Regions from separate parts of the Homo sapiens genome. Here region 1 is linked to region 2. The links are contacts of gene promoters, found by promoter capture Hi-C in blood cells and fetal thymus (Javierre and others, 2016). All regions are on one chromosome and are shown on one strand. The core of a region is centred on a gene start or on the middle of the fragment in contact, and the rest is flanking DNA. Distances in the headings are between cores, read along the strand shown.

Region 1 (7,631 bases), core at 1,269-3,768, 87 kb after region 2:
TTAAAGATTTGTGGAACTGAGGCCAGGCACGGTGGCTCATGCCTGTAATCCTAGCACTTTGGGATGCCAAGGGAGATGGATCGCTTTGAGCTCAAGAGTTCAAGACCAGCCTGGGCAACATGGCAAAACCCCATTTCTACAAAAGAAAAAAAATACAAAAAGTAGCTGGGCATGGTGTCACGCACCTGTGGTCCCAGCTACTCGGGAGGCTGCCAAAGGATCACTTGAGCCAGGAAGCGGAGGTCTGCAGTGAGCCGAGATCATGCCACTGCACTCTGGCCTGGGCAACAGAGTGAGACCCTGTCTCAATAAAAAAAAATTTTTTTTTAAGATATGTGGAACTTACTCTCTGCTCCTTTGTTTCTAGGTTCTTCTTGCTGCTATAAACTGGATGTGACATTTGCCTTCTTGGACCATAAATACAAGAGCCACATCCTAGGGATGTCAGAGTGGTGAGTTGGACATAGCCTAGATCCCTGAGAACCTCAGCAGATCTACCAGCTTTGGTCTGTCCTCCTCTAGACTTGAATGTGAAAGTGAAATAAGCCATCTTGTTTAAGCTGCTAGCTTTTATTTAAATCTCTGTTATTTACAGCCTGACCTAATGTTAACTAACAGACCAGGTGCAAACACATGGACATATACATGACACATCCAGAGAACAATGTTAGCACAGAATGGCTGGAGCACGGATGTTGTTGGTACCTAACGAGAAATGAGGCAGGAGCCAGAGACAAAGGCAGAAGCCAGGTCGTGAAGGGTGTGGTATAACAGGTCTGCTTGTATTCAGGAACACAGATCCTTTCTTTGAAATCTTTCCTGGAGGAGGATTTAGGAATACCCACACATCCAGATGTGCTCTTCCACAAACGATTGAGAGAGAGTGTGTTGGCCTTGGCTTTGGTGCTATGCCAGAGCCCTGAGCAGGTTGCTGCCTTCTGCAGCTCAACCCTCCTGGCTTCTTTGCTGCTGCAGCAGCTGACACTGCAGCTGTGGGTCATGCAGATGTTATGACAAATCATTCAGAGTCCCCCTGGTCCCTAGGTCCCTGCAGCAATAGCCTCACCAAAAATACCTAAAAAACAGTGTCTTCAGGCTCGCACAAACTCCTCCATTAGGGGGAACCCAAGCCCAGATGGGATTTTAGACACAATTCCACACGCTCCATCCCTCTCCTGGGGCCAAAGCACAAAACTCCTTCCTTCAGCTTCAGAATTCCCAAACACACACACATGCATACACACACACGCATGCACACCCATATAGATTCACGCAAATATGCATATATATACACACGTATATGAGGCAGCCCTGTGACTATCGCAGAGGCCTGATGTGGTCACATTTGCATCTAAGAAATTCTGTCTGCCTGCCTCTTGAAGAATGGTTGGAAGGAAGCAGAAAAAGAAACAAATAGAACTGTGGTTGCCCAGGGAAGAAATTCCGAGGGCCTGAACCAAAGCAGAGACTGAGGGGATATATTTGAGTATCCCATCCCCTCAGAGATATTTGCGTAGCACAAAATAAGTAAAATCAGCAGGATTTGGTAACCGGCTAGATGTAGGGGTGAGGTATAGGGAGGAGGGTAGGATGATTTCTGAGACTAGATGACTTAAGTTATTAATAATAATAATAGTGGCCGGGCACAGTGGCTCCCGTCTGTAATCCCAGCACTTTCGGAAGCCGAGGTGGGCGGATCACAAGGTCAGGAGATTGAGACCATCCTGGCTAACATGGTGAAACCCCATCTCTACTAAAAAAAATACAAAAAATTAGCCGGGTCTAGTGACAGGCGCCTGTAGTCCCAGCTACTCAGGAGGCTGAGGCAGGAGAATGGCGTGAACCCGGGAGGCAGAGCTTGCAGTGAGCCGAGATCCCACCACTGCACTCCAGCCTGGGCGACAGAGCGAGACTCTGTCTCAAAAATAATAATAATAATAATAATAATAATAATAATAATAATAGCGATAGCTACCAATGACTGACCACCTAGTGCATGCTATTCATTGAGTCAAGTGTATTCTGGCTTTGTTTTCTCTCACTCATCAGCTTCACACACCGTGGGGCAGACTTGCTTATGGTCCTATTATATTAGGACAAATTCATTTTCTTTTTTTTTTTTTTTTTTTGAGACAGAGTCTCACTCTGTTGCCCAGGCTGGAGTGCAGTGGTGTGATCTCGGTCACTGCAACCTCCACCTCCCGGGTTCAGGCCATTCTCCTGCCTCAGTCTCCTGAGTAGCTGGGATTATAGGCATGTGCCACCACATCCAGCTGATTTTTGAATTTTTAGTAGAGACGGGGTTTCACTGTGTTGGCCGGGCTGGTCTTCAACTCCTGACCTCAGGTGATCCACCCGCCTTGGCCTCCCAAAGTGCTGGGATTATAGGTGTGAGCCACTGAGCCCGGCCCATTTTCTCTTTTAACTCTCAAACTAATTCTGTGGTATATTGTCTTTATCCATACTTTACAAATAAGAAAACTGAGTACCATGCTTACAGCTTCCCAGCTTTAAGAAACTAGCACAGACGTGCTGCAAACCCAGCTTTTCTGGCTCAGCTCAGTTCTTTATTACACAACATATGCTACATCCCACCAGTTCAGCACTTAAATTATGTTAGAAATGGAACTGAAAGAAAATATACCAAAATGGTTATCTTTGGGTGGTAGGATTAGAAGTTATTTTTATTTTATACATACTATTTCTGTTAACCACATTTTCTTTCATGAGTATATATGCTATCTGTAATCTGGAGAAAATAATAAATGTTTTTATTTAAATAACACAAATAACCTTAAGAGAAAGAAAGAACAGCCTCAGGAGAGTGAATTTATGCATTTGGCAAGGAAGAGGAGACCCTCTTAAGTATTCAGGCCAGGTTGCCATTAGCAATGATAGCCAACCCTAGCAATATTCCAGATAAAAGCCTTGTCAGAGGAGCCCCCTGGGCTGGCGCTGACCAGGGCCCTCCTTTTGCTTAGCCATGACCTTGAGAGTTTGTCATCGTCTCGCTGGCTGTCAGAGACCACTGCGTTTTATTTATGTTTTGTTTTGTTTTGTTTTGCTTAATTTTACCAGTAATAAATTTAGGCACTGAAGCAAAAATTCCAGACAGTACATCCTCTGCCGACACTTCATAACTCTCTAAATAATGACATCATGAATATTTATGTCTTGCTATTATCGCTGCTGCAAGGAATGATAGTTTTAGCACAACTGACCGTATTCATTTTCCATCTCACTGCTCAACCCTGAATATTGTGTCTTTATTTTCTCCCGCTCATCAGCTTCACGCACCCTGGGGCCGACTTGCTTATGGTCCTGTTACATGGGAGGAATATCCCTCAAAGAAATGTTCATTTTTCCTGTTCTGGCACAATCAGAGAGTCAGGGAACCCTGCATTCTCTTTTCCAGGCTTTGGCAAATCTTCATCAAGGGCCTATTACATGCCAGGCATTCTGCTAGGTACCTGGATACAAGATGAATAAGACCTACTCCTCGCCTGCAGGTCCAAGAGTTGGGAGACAGACATTTAAACAGTTAATTATGCTGGAGTGAGCTGAGGGCAATGGTTGGTACCAAGTCCTAGGTATTATGGGAGAGGCCATGCATGGGGTCAACATGAATAAAGGCACTAAGGTGAGAAAGAGCACAGAACATTACAAGCAATTCAGTGTTGTCAGAGAGCAGGGAGCATGGGATAAAAATGGTGTTGTGTTACTTAGGTTTGTGCAGTCTAGATGTGCTAACTCTGACTTTCACAATGACTCAACCAATTAAATGTGCTCAAATTCACAGTTTGTTACAAGAGAGTCACATATGATTAATGAAGCAATAATATCCTGTATAACATCCATAGAAGCAGTAATTGGAGGTAACAAACCACAGCGATGGGTTGGGAGACCAACACATGGCTAAGTGGGTCCAAAGTCCTTGACTTCAATCAGCAATGAAGTCACTGCTTCTCTTAGACAGAGCCTTGGGAGTGGATGGGGAGGGGGCAAACGCCAAGTTGGGGGGAGGCCTCAAAAGGTGGTCAGAGGGTCAAAAGGTGTCCTGTCCAAGGTCAGGTTCTTGCTGCCTTTATGGTCCTCCAGAGGTGTGTCCATTCTCAGTATCTCAGCCACCTTTCTGAATTTACTTTTTATTGGTTCGTTTCATGTCTCAGTGGTTCTAGGCCACAGCAGGTATTGTCTTACTACCTCAGTCCATTACACATATGTTTATCACTTTGAGATGTAAACAACTTCACCATGGGCTCAATGTCACTTGACGTGAGTGACTCCATTTTCAGACATTAGGATCACAAATCATTATCATATATCATGGCAACTAGATCTTGGATGATGGCTTAGTTAAAGAGCTGGAACTTGGCTAGGCATGGTGGCTTATGCCTGTAATCTGAACACTTTGGGAGGCCAAGGCAGGAGGATCCCTTGAGTTCAGGAGTTCAAGGCCAGCCTTGGCAACAAAGCAAGACCCTGTCTCTACAAAAAAAAAAAAAAAAAAATCAGCCAGGCATGGTGGTACACACCTGTAGACCTAGCTAGTAGGGAGGCTGAGGCATAAGGATTGCTTGATCCCAGGAGTTTGAAGCTACAGTGAGCTACTGATTGTATCACCACACTCCAACCTGAGCAACAGAGCAAGACTCTGTCTCAAAAAAAAAAAAAGCTGGAACTTGAGGCTGAATTTAAAGCATCAAAAAGAAAAAGAAACAGCAAGATTGTTGGGAAATTGGTAGTGTAGTCCAGGTGACACATTATAGGGGCCCAAACTGGAATTGTAGAAGTGAGTATATAGATGAAGAAACAGATTCGGAGAATACTGGGAAGGTTAAATCAGGAGGACACAATTACAGGAGAAAGAAGAGTGTGCATTTGAAAGAGTTGGGGTAGGTGTATCAGGGTGTGGGACATGGAGAAAAAGGAACCAATCAGTAGACAAATTTGTATATTTTCTTATGGATATTTGATCCATTTAAAATATGGAATCTTCCCATCTAGGTTCTTGTTTCTTTTCACATATTCAGATCTTCTTCTGGTCTCTCAATAAAGCTTTGTCACTTTCTTCGTATAGGTCTCATTTCTTGCTAGGTTAATACCTATGGATTTGGTGGGGGGGCGGGTTTGTAATTTCCCCGTTACTATTATAAATGGACTCTTTTTAATATCTTGTTCTCTCATTGGTTGCCTAAGTTAGACTTCCTTTGATTGCAAATAACAGAAAACCCAACTCAAATTGCTATAAACAAGTAATAGCTCATATTGAGTGCTTATTATTGCTAGAAATGGATCTAGGTACTTTATATGTACTAATCTTTTAACATTTAAATAAAATAAAAAGATTTACTGATTACCATCAATAAATATCAATAAATGAATCATACATCTGGCTTCAGACATAGATGAATCTAGCGGCTCAAAAAATGTCACCAGAATTGAGTTTGTCTCCATCTCTTGGCTCCACAGTGGCAAAGTGACTGAAGCTGCTCCCATGTTATTTACTTTTAGGTTCAGGTCCTGGCAAGAAGTTTGGTAGGGCAGCCTATTTTAAATAAAGACCTGGAATTGAGTCTCTTAGTAGCCTAACCTGAGACATGCACTCATCCCTTGAACAATGACCGTTGCTAGGTGCTTTGACTAAATGTGGTCATGTGTCACTCCACCAAAACTACAGACATGAAGAGAAGAGGAGGAGTCATTCACCTCTAAATAAATCAGGTACTTTTGGAAGAAGTGGGACAAATGGACACTGGAGAAGGGCGACCAAAAACAACTAATGTCTACTCCATTGATTACTACTCCATTGGTTATTATTTTTATTTTGGATTAAAATTGCACACACATAGACATTCTTTATCTATCTATCATCTATTTATCTACAAATGCATTCTTATGTATATGCATATATATGACAACCAACCAGCTTGGATAGTTGGTGTTTTTGTTTGTTTGTTTGTTTTTTGAGACAGAGTCTCAATCCTTCACCCAGGCTGGAGTGCAGTGGCACGATACCAGCTCACTGCAACCTCTGCCTCCAGGGTTCAAGCAATTCTCCTGTCTTGGCCTCCTGAGTAGCTGGAACTATAGGCACCTGCCACCATGCCCAGCTAATTTTTGTTTTTAGTAGAGACAGGGTTTCACCATGTTGGTCAGGCTGCTCTCGAACTCTTGACCTCAGGTGATCCACTCGCCTTGGCCTCGCAAAGTGCTGGGATTACAGGTATGAGCCATTGTGCCCGGCCTTGGATAGTTTTTAAATTGTTTTAATATGGATGTTGTGCTAGATTGATTGCACCAGAAGCCTCAAGGTTCACACCTCCCTGAATCTGATTTCTCCACTCTCTCCACTGACTGTGGACTTGTGCCTTGCTTTTCACCAATAGACAGTATCAAACTTGACTCAGGCAGAGGCTAGAAAAAGAACCTTTTGCTTTGGCAGGCCAAGGCAAGCAGATCACAAGGTCAAGAGATTGAGACCATCCCGCCCAATATGGTGAAACCCTGTCTCTACTAAAAATCCAAAAATTAGTTGGGCGTGGTGGCATGTGCCAGTAGTCCCAGATACTCAGGAGGCTGAGGCAGGAGAATCACTTGAACCTGGGAGGCGGAGGTTGCAGTGAGTCGAGACTGCCTGGGTGACAGAGTGAGATTCCGTCTTAAAAAAAAAAAAAGAAAAAAAAAGAAAAAGAACCTTTGAGTTTCCTGTTCCTCTATTTGAGTGTGTTCACCACCATGGGAACAAGCTTGGGCTAGCTTGCTGGAGAACCAAAGACCACGTGGAGGCAAGTCAAGCTGTCTTTGGCAAAGTTACCCTAGACCAACAAGTCTCCAGCTGATCTGCCAGCTAACTACAGTTGCATGAGCAAGCCCAGCCAAGATTAGCCATGCTCAACCCAGATCAGAAGGGCCAATCAGCTGTAGACTCATGAGAAACAATAAAAGCCTGTGGTTTTAAGTCACTACATTTTGTGGTGATTGATAATGCAGCAATAAGTATCTGAAACAGACACTCTCCATGTATACCTAATAATATGATCATCAAAGTTAACAAAGCAACTAAGCCTAAGAGACTAATAATGAGCTAACTCTGATGGTTGAGAAGATAGCCGGAATGGGAAAGACACATGGCTGTAGCCTAAGCAGGTTGCTAGAGTGGACAGGCAGGCAGCCCGCGGCCATGGAGAGCAGGATCAAGAAGTGCTGAAAGCAGAAGTAAGCTGCAAAACAAAGACGATTGACAAACTAATCAACCTACAAGTTATCATTCATACATTGATTGAAATACTGTTAGGTGGTACAGTGTATCTAGGCAAAGATAAAGGAGCCAAGGACACCAGACAATATTCATGAAATGAGCAGAGCATAACAATCCTTGTGCTATGGTCGAGTGCACACTGGCAAGATACAGGGGCCGAGTGCCACAGAAACTGGAGAAGGGGAACAGCACTGGGGTACAGGAAAACCTTCAGTTTTTCTCTCCTTCAGAGAGAAACTGACTCACATTTTCCTATTGAATGAGGAGAATATATTCCCTAGAAATTTGGAAGTTCAGTTTTCTGAAGTATCTGAATTATGTTGTAAACTCTTAAAAAAAATCTGAGAAAAAATTATTTCATTGGCTATGT
Region 2 (7,020 bases), core at 4,376-6,875:
TCTTCTAAACTAAACGTCCAGCAGAATTCTCTTAAATAACTAGGGCCTGATTCAAAGTTTTCACTATATCCACGTTGTTTGCCAAGTACTTACTGTCTATGGACAGGTTTACCATGATAAAGAACATAACATGCAAAAACAGACCATTATTTTAATGAAGATTGTATGTGAAATCAGAATTATTTAGGCTATCTGTATATCTATTCATGAAAATACAGAACAGCTTTAAGATTTTTTATTACTGATTACTGACCCTCTTCTACACCTTCCCCTTTTTCCCCAAGTGGATAGATATTTTTTTCTCAGTGATGATATTCACCCCTTTTTTTAGGATGGAGATTTCTCCTCCCAGTGGATTAGAAAGAAGAAGCATGGCTATTTCTTTGCCATGCTGGCCACAGCCTTCTTAGCTGTATCCTCCAAGTCAATGCCATAAGTAATGGGGAGTTAGTTAGATGCTATTAAGCATATTTTAAGGCCCCTGGACATTGAATCCTTCAAACTTGACCACCAGAGGGGCCATGAGTTCTAGTTCTCAGCAGTGTTTGATGATGCCATTGGCAATGACAGCAAAATTCACTATCACACCTAAAACAATGTTGACGGTGATTTCAAACTTAGGATCAGCAATGAGCAATTTAAATGTTTAGTACACCTGAGCTTCCTCTACACTACTGCTAATATCTAAGAAGTTGGCTGGGCTTTGATCATTAAGGGTAATAACGTCTCAGAGAGCCATGTATGGCCCAGCATCACTTAGTAAGGATTCCCATCTAGTTTTAATTTTAGATCATATCTGGTTGCTTCATTTTCGATAGACACACCTTGAATTTGTTGGCCATGCCAAATATGTTTTTTGTGGACATTCTGCATTGTCCTCAAGGTTTATCATGACATCAAAATAGACAACCTATCATTCCAGAGTTTCACCAAAGGTTTCACTTCAAGCTAAGTAGCATATAATTTCAGGAAGCAGTAAAACAGCTGGTTAAGCCTGATTTTTGTAGACCTGTAGAAGCCTACATTTTCTCCCCTTTACTAAACTTGACTGTTCTCTATGCCCTCAAAATGTAAATTTCCTCCTTAAAAATAAATTCCGGTAAGAAGCTGCCACTTATAACGCCTCTCCTGGAGGCTGCCATCAGTAAAGGCCATTGCAGGATTAGCCCATTAAAACTTTATTGTGGGAACATCACACCCAGTGCCAGTTACGAAATATTCTAACTTTTACCCTGTTTTCTGACATCAGTTTCTTGCTCTTAGGTACCTGCAGGAGCAGCCATCTTTTAGATGTTAATTCAACTCCCTTGGACTTCTCTGAAAGGAGTGGGGCCTGAGCACCAGCATTCACAAAATTTTTTGACCTGCATTGTCATAGGAGAATGACACCTTAAACAAAAACCAGGCACAGAGGAGTCTGACTAGGTAACTGAGATGAGAGAAGAAGGGACCTTTTTTCCTCATTTTATTGAGATGGGTCTCACTATGTTGCCCAAGCTGGTCTCAAATTCCTGGGCTCAATTGATCCTCCCACCTCAGCCTCCCAAGTAATGGGGACTATAGGAAACAGCCACCATGCCCAGCGAGAAGGGTACTTCATACAGATTTAATTCTACATTGGAAACCAACCTTGAGAAAAAGCCTACATTGTGTGTGTGTGTGTTGGGGCAGGGAGCGGTGTGTATGCTTCTGTCCAGATCTGAGTTCCTGAAAATCATAGTGTCTTATCCAGCTTTGTATCCCCAGTATCTAGTATAGTGCCTTATATATACTAAGTGCTTAATAAATGGTTATGACATGAATTACGGTTTGGATGAGTCCTTGTGCCACTGGAAACCCTCTCGAGATCACATTTAGAGGACTGCCACAGCAGCATGTCTGAGAGTCTTAGTTTGTTTAGTTTAACGCATTCTCTAACATGATGATTAACCCTCATGTAATCTCAGTCACAATTTTATCACTATAGATATTAATGAGCATGTTGAATCCAGCTGCTGCTGTGGTTTTACGTCCAGAATACCATAAGCCTATAAAATCCATTCCATTGGAAAGCAGAGTGGCCTTACATTAATTTCTAAGCTTTACACAACAATTAGGCAAAATTAGACAAGACTTCATGCTTTTTAAGTCCAAAGATTCCCTTTCTAGTTTTATTATGAAGCCAATACATCGAAGAATACTTTCCTCCCACAGTGCTTAAGACCAGTGCTAGATTACAAATACATAAATGGGCCATGACTTCCACCCCACCCACAAAATGATCCAGGCAGGAAATTCCAACTTGCTTGTCCATTGCTCAATCTACCCTTTGCTAAAGGAAGACATTTCTAGGTGAGGACATTTATAGTCAAATAAATTCTAAATGATAATGTTCAGTAACAGATCTTCTGAGCAAGGAAATATATCCACCTGTCTGGAAAAGACTCAAATTCTGTGTCACTTGTAATGGGCCAGTATGGAGTCTAAGCTGATGACAAAGCATCTCCTAGCTCTTCCCCTTCCTCTTCAGCTCTCCGGCTGTAACTCTGGGGAGGCTGTAGAGGCACAACATTCTCCTCTCTGGATTCTTCACTCATTACCTGTAAATGCTACATCACATGATCTCAGTTTCTTCAAATACCCTCTCTGTTGACTGCATGTTAATCTGTTCAATAGGTATTTTTATCCCAAAATAATGCAGGACCCAGAGGTGGAGAAATCTGTGGATTTGTGGTGGAAGAGAAATTATGAAAAGAAAAACTGAGCCAGATCCTGGTGAAGCAATTCTAGGGTTAGCAAGAAAACCAATTAGAAAAGAACTATAGTCTAAGGAGCCACATAGAGTTGAGAACCTGCTTACATTCATTCATTCCTTTCACACTTTTCCTTGAGTATCTATTACATATTGGTCATCTGCTAAGTTCTGTAATACAAAGATGAATGAGACCCTCCCCTTGAATTACTCACATTAAACAGTGGCGAGATTGTCTCTAATTGCTATGGCATACATGTGTACAAATATGCTTTGAAGAAGTCAGTTCTAAGTGATACCAAGGCTGCCTCACACTTAGACAATAAGAGAATCAGAGAGAAAAGCTTGTCATTCAGACAGTAGGTAGATTCAAACAGAAGATGTATGACAGAGAATAACTATTGACATAAATAGAGGCCAAAGATGGTGAAAAGGTGAGAGGGTGGGAGTGGTGTGCAAGACCCTGGAAGAGACTTTTGGGATGCAGGAGATCTGGGGATCCAGGTTGATTCTGGACATTTTAGAAATGCCATTCCTAAAGGTTAGATAAAGGATATAATTTGTTGTGGAGATTAAACTCTCTAGCCCTCCCCTACCATTTTCCATTCATCACATGGGATTGCAGCTACCTACCTTGAGTGGTTTGAGTTTAGGAAAGTTTTAGCTGAGGGAATCAACTGAAAGGAGTAAAAGTCACTGGTTCAGCAACAAACTGGCAGAGATCCATGTCCATGTCATTTGTTTGGCCTAGAGCCAATATTAATATTTTTATTGATGTTTTTTGGAAGGATGAGTCAAGACTCTATAGCGTAATTTGATGGATAACACAAAGACAAAAATTAACAGAATTACTAGACTTCTGTCCTTAGTGATTATTTACAGTTTAGGTGTTTATTTTCTGTCTTTTTCAACTAGACTGTAAGTTCCATGAGGGCAGGAACTTTGTCTTGTTTGTTCTTATTTTCCTAACATGTAGAATGGCGCCTGCAAATAACAGTTGCTCAGTAAGTAGTTTTACATTGCTTGAACCACAGTGATAGGCTGTGATGAGTACTGTGATAGCAGTATGCACTGGTGCTATGAGAGCACAGCATTCACTCTGTCTTGAGGTTCAGGGTAGGCTTCAGAGAGAAGGTGACATTTGAGCTTGAAGAGTGAGTAGCACTTCATGAAATAGAATGAGAGAGAATGGTATTTCTTTTTTTTTTTTTTTTTTTTTGAGAATGGTATTTCAGAAAGGGTGGAACACCATGAATAAAGCAATGTGTTATTAAAAAAATAGTATGTTTGGGGGATAATAAAAAGTTTATCTTTTGAATTCTGATACTTAAATAGTCAACAGTATGCATGGGAAGTAAATTTCCTTCCATACAGGCATACATTACTTCATGCAATAGTTGTGAAACAAGGACCACAGGGAGATGCAAGCAAATTACGTTTAAAAGACTATGGAGTAAAATTCTTTTGTCAGGTGGATTAATCTATCCCTAATGAATCTCTCCCGAGAAGCTTTTCCCTCCAAAGGTCTATCTTTTTCCAAGACGTTTATTCAGGGAGGTATCCTTCATATCTCCCTGAAAAGAAAGAAAAGTAAATAGTGGCTAATGCTTTTAACAATGATTAAAAAAATCAGAAAGGTCAAGGCTTTAAGGTCATTTAATGTGAAGAGGAAATAAGATAAATGTTCAGCATTTAAGGATTATCACTAACCCAACTTTTCATAAACACAGAATAGTGGAGGTGGAACCTGCAGAGACTTTTATTCAGGGAACATCCACTGCGGGACAGGCAGATGCTTTGGTATCCAGGCTGCTCCGCGCCGCCAGCTGCCCAAGTAATCCTCACAACAGCCCGCAGAGGTAGGTATTAACCACCCTTTGTTTTACAGGTGAGGAAACAGAGGCACAAGACGGTCAGGTAACCGGCTTGGAGTGATGAATGAAACTAAAATAAGCGCCGACCTCGAAGCTCATTTGGTCTTTCCCCAACCCCATGCGGCCTCATTAAAGAGACTTTTTTGATTAGCTATGGAGAAAACGTTCTTCATCAAACATGAAATGCAATCCGGAAGGCACAGGTTTCTCTCTCTCTCTCTCTCTCTCTCTCTCTCTCTCTCTCTCTCTCTCTCTCTCTCTCTCTCTCTCTCTCTCTCTCTCTCTCTCTCTCTCTCTCTCTCTCTCTCTCTCTGTCTGTATGAAGTGGCTTCTGGGGCCCCACGAAGCAATGTTCCCCCAAACAGCCCCGGACGAGGGTGTCTATAATTCATCCTGTTATAATTAACCCCGGGGTTACGGTATTGCTTCTAAAGCCCTTGTTGAAATGCAGATATGGACCTCGCAGGATTGACACGATCTCTCAATTACACCTAATTAAAGAGCTGGCTCTTTGAGAATCTGACCCGACTGGGCCAGGAGTGGGAAAGGCGGGGGCTGCCGGTTGGGGTGAGGGATAGGGTTCTGCAGTCCCGGGAAGGCAGGTGAAGGGTGGGGATCAGGATTGGAAGAGTCACTGGGTGCTCGGTGAGACGAGGGAGGTTGGAGCTGAACTAAAACAAAGTTTGACTTCTGGACAATTATCCAGGGAGAGGGCGGGGAACACACCTTGCCCGGACTGTCTGGGAATCCCATTGACAGGTCATCTCAGGTTCACCATCTTCCTGTCGTGGGCTCCTCCAGGGAGGCCACCCGGGAGCAATTAAACTGGGCCACACCAGCCACCTCCCACAGCAGCGGGGTCCGCAGATTTAACCCTTTCCCCCCAGATTCCGGCACTGGGTGCCGCGCTCTCTCCCCCAGCACCGCGCCCGCGCCCCCGGCTCCCGGACTGGGCATGCTCAGTAGCCGCCCGCTTCGTGCTCCCAGGGAAGCCTCTGCACGCCCTCCCCCGCTGCTCTCGGTCGCCTCCTCGCCGCCAGCCGCCCCGGGTGCATCCCGGCTTGCTCCGCTCCACGCGACCCAGATTCCTGCCCCGCCCCCGCCCCTTCCGCGCCCGCAGCCAGTGCGGCAGCCGCGGCCGCCCCTGTCCAGCCTCGGCGCCCGGGACCGAGCGCGTCGCTCGCCGCCGCGGAGCGCGTAGCCGGAGCGCCTGGGGAAGGCGGAGATGAAGACCACGCCGCCGCGCGCCGGGAGCTGCTGAGCCTACCGCCGCCAGAGTCCAGGTGATTGGCGACCCCAGAGGAGCCTAGGGAGTAGGGGCGAATGCCCTTGGGGAGGAGAGAGGTGCGGCGAGGACGCGAGGCATCACGCAAGCTGCGCTGTGCCTGGGAGGCAGCAGAAATGCTAAGCATCGGGGGCAGAGAGGGAACGGGAATGAAAGTGCACTCTGCCTTGGTGCAGGGGCTCCGGGGTCACCCAGGACAGTGATTTCCCCTTCTATCCTGTCCTCCCAATTAACACCCGAGAGGCTGCAGGTCGGCGCGAGAGGCTGTTTGCATCTCGGCCCGGGCGTAGGTCGCCTAGCGACCTAACGCCGAGGGCTCGGGGAAGGGATCCCAGACAGAGCCAAAATGGAAGGCGGGACAAGGGCGGCCTGGCTGGGGCGAGGGGCTGGTCTGGGTCCCTGGGAACCCCTTGCCTTGTGGGCTTCGGTCTCCAGGGAGGAGCTAGGCAGCCGGGCTGCGGGGCCGCCGGACTGTGGGGTCCTCCGCGCAGCGAGCTGGGAGGAGCGGTCGGCTGGGCTGTTGAGCTGCGCCTCCTCCAACTGCTGGGAAACTCCGCACTTCAATATTGGAGCATCTCTTTCCCGGGCAGGTAGAATTGGACAGCCGAGTGGGGAGTGACAGCTGACAGCTGACGGGGCTGTTAAAAGCAGAGCAGTGGAGTGTGGTGGTGGGGTGAGCTGTTGTGGGTGCTTTTTTTTGTTTTCCAAGTGTGGGTACGGGCTGTTCTGACTCAGTGTTTATGCTCAACCTCTAAGCGGCGAGTTCGGTAACACATCTTATGAATATTTCAGGAACGACCTCACGGGCTCACTTGCTTCAGATCAAGTTTAATGAATATGTTGTCAGCCTTTCTGCTCTGCACAGTGCCCTGAGCTTTCCACATTTCATCCCTTTCCCCCACCACCTAGGAAAATACGCTGCTAACCCCCAGTGGGCCGTAGATTGGTACTATCAATTGAGTCTGTCATTTGGAGAGACCAATTTTGGGCAGGCATCCAGGCATTGTTCTGCATCTCTGCAATGTATACGTTTTGTGCCGGTGGCTTGACAACCGTCCTTAACTGGTGCTGCCAATATGGTGGAAAGCAGGTAGTATGCTTGTATTGGGATAAATGTCTTAATTCATTAA

What was found. Contacts are between HindIII fragments. The CHiCAGO score rates a contact against its expected background, and 5 or more counts as called.
Region 1: a contact is called between a fragment that was not itself captured here and the fragment with the promoter of ELMOD1 in region 2, in 1 of 17 cell types (endothelial precursors). The highest score is 5.6, in endothelial precursors.

The regions. Positions count from the first base shown.
Region 1 is chr11:107,675,571-107,683,201 of GRCh38, forward strand. No RefSeq gene overlaps it. Among named protein-coding and RNA genes, the nearest start is that of SLN, 33 kb to the right of the region's middle. The HindIII fragment of the contact is 5,075 bases long and covers 1-5,056 here.
Region 2 is chr11:107,585,522-107,592,541 of GRCh38, forward strand. It overlaps ELMOD1 (ELMO domain containing 1), which reads left to right and starts at 5,626. Exons shown (of 12, transcript NM_018712.4): 1 at 5,626-5,888. It also overlaps the pseudogene SUCLG2P3. RefSeq lists silencers at 5,509-5,618, 5,679-5,818 and an enhancer at 6,069-6,128. The HindIII fragment of the contact is 4,180 bases long and covers 4,239-7,020 here.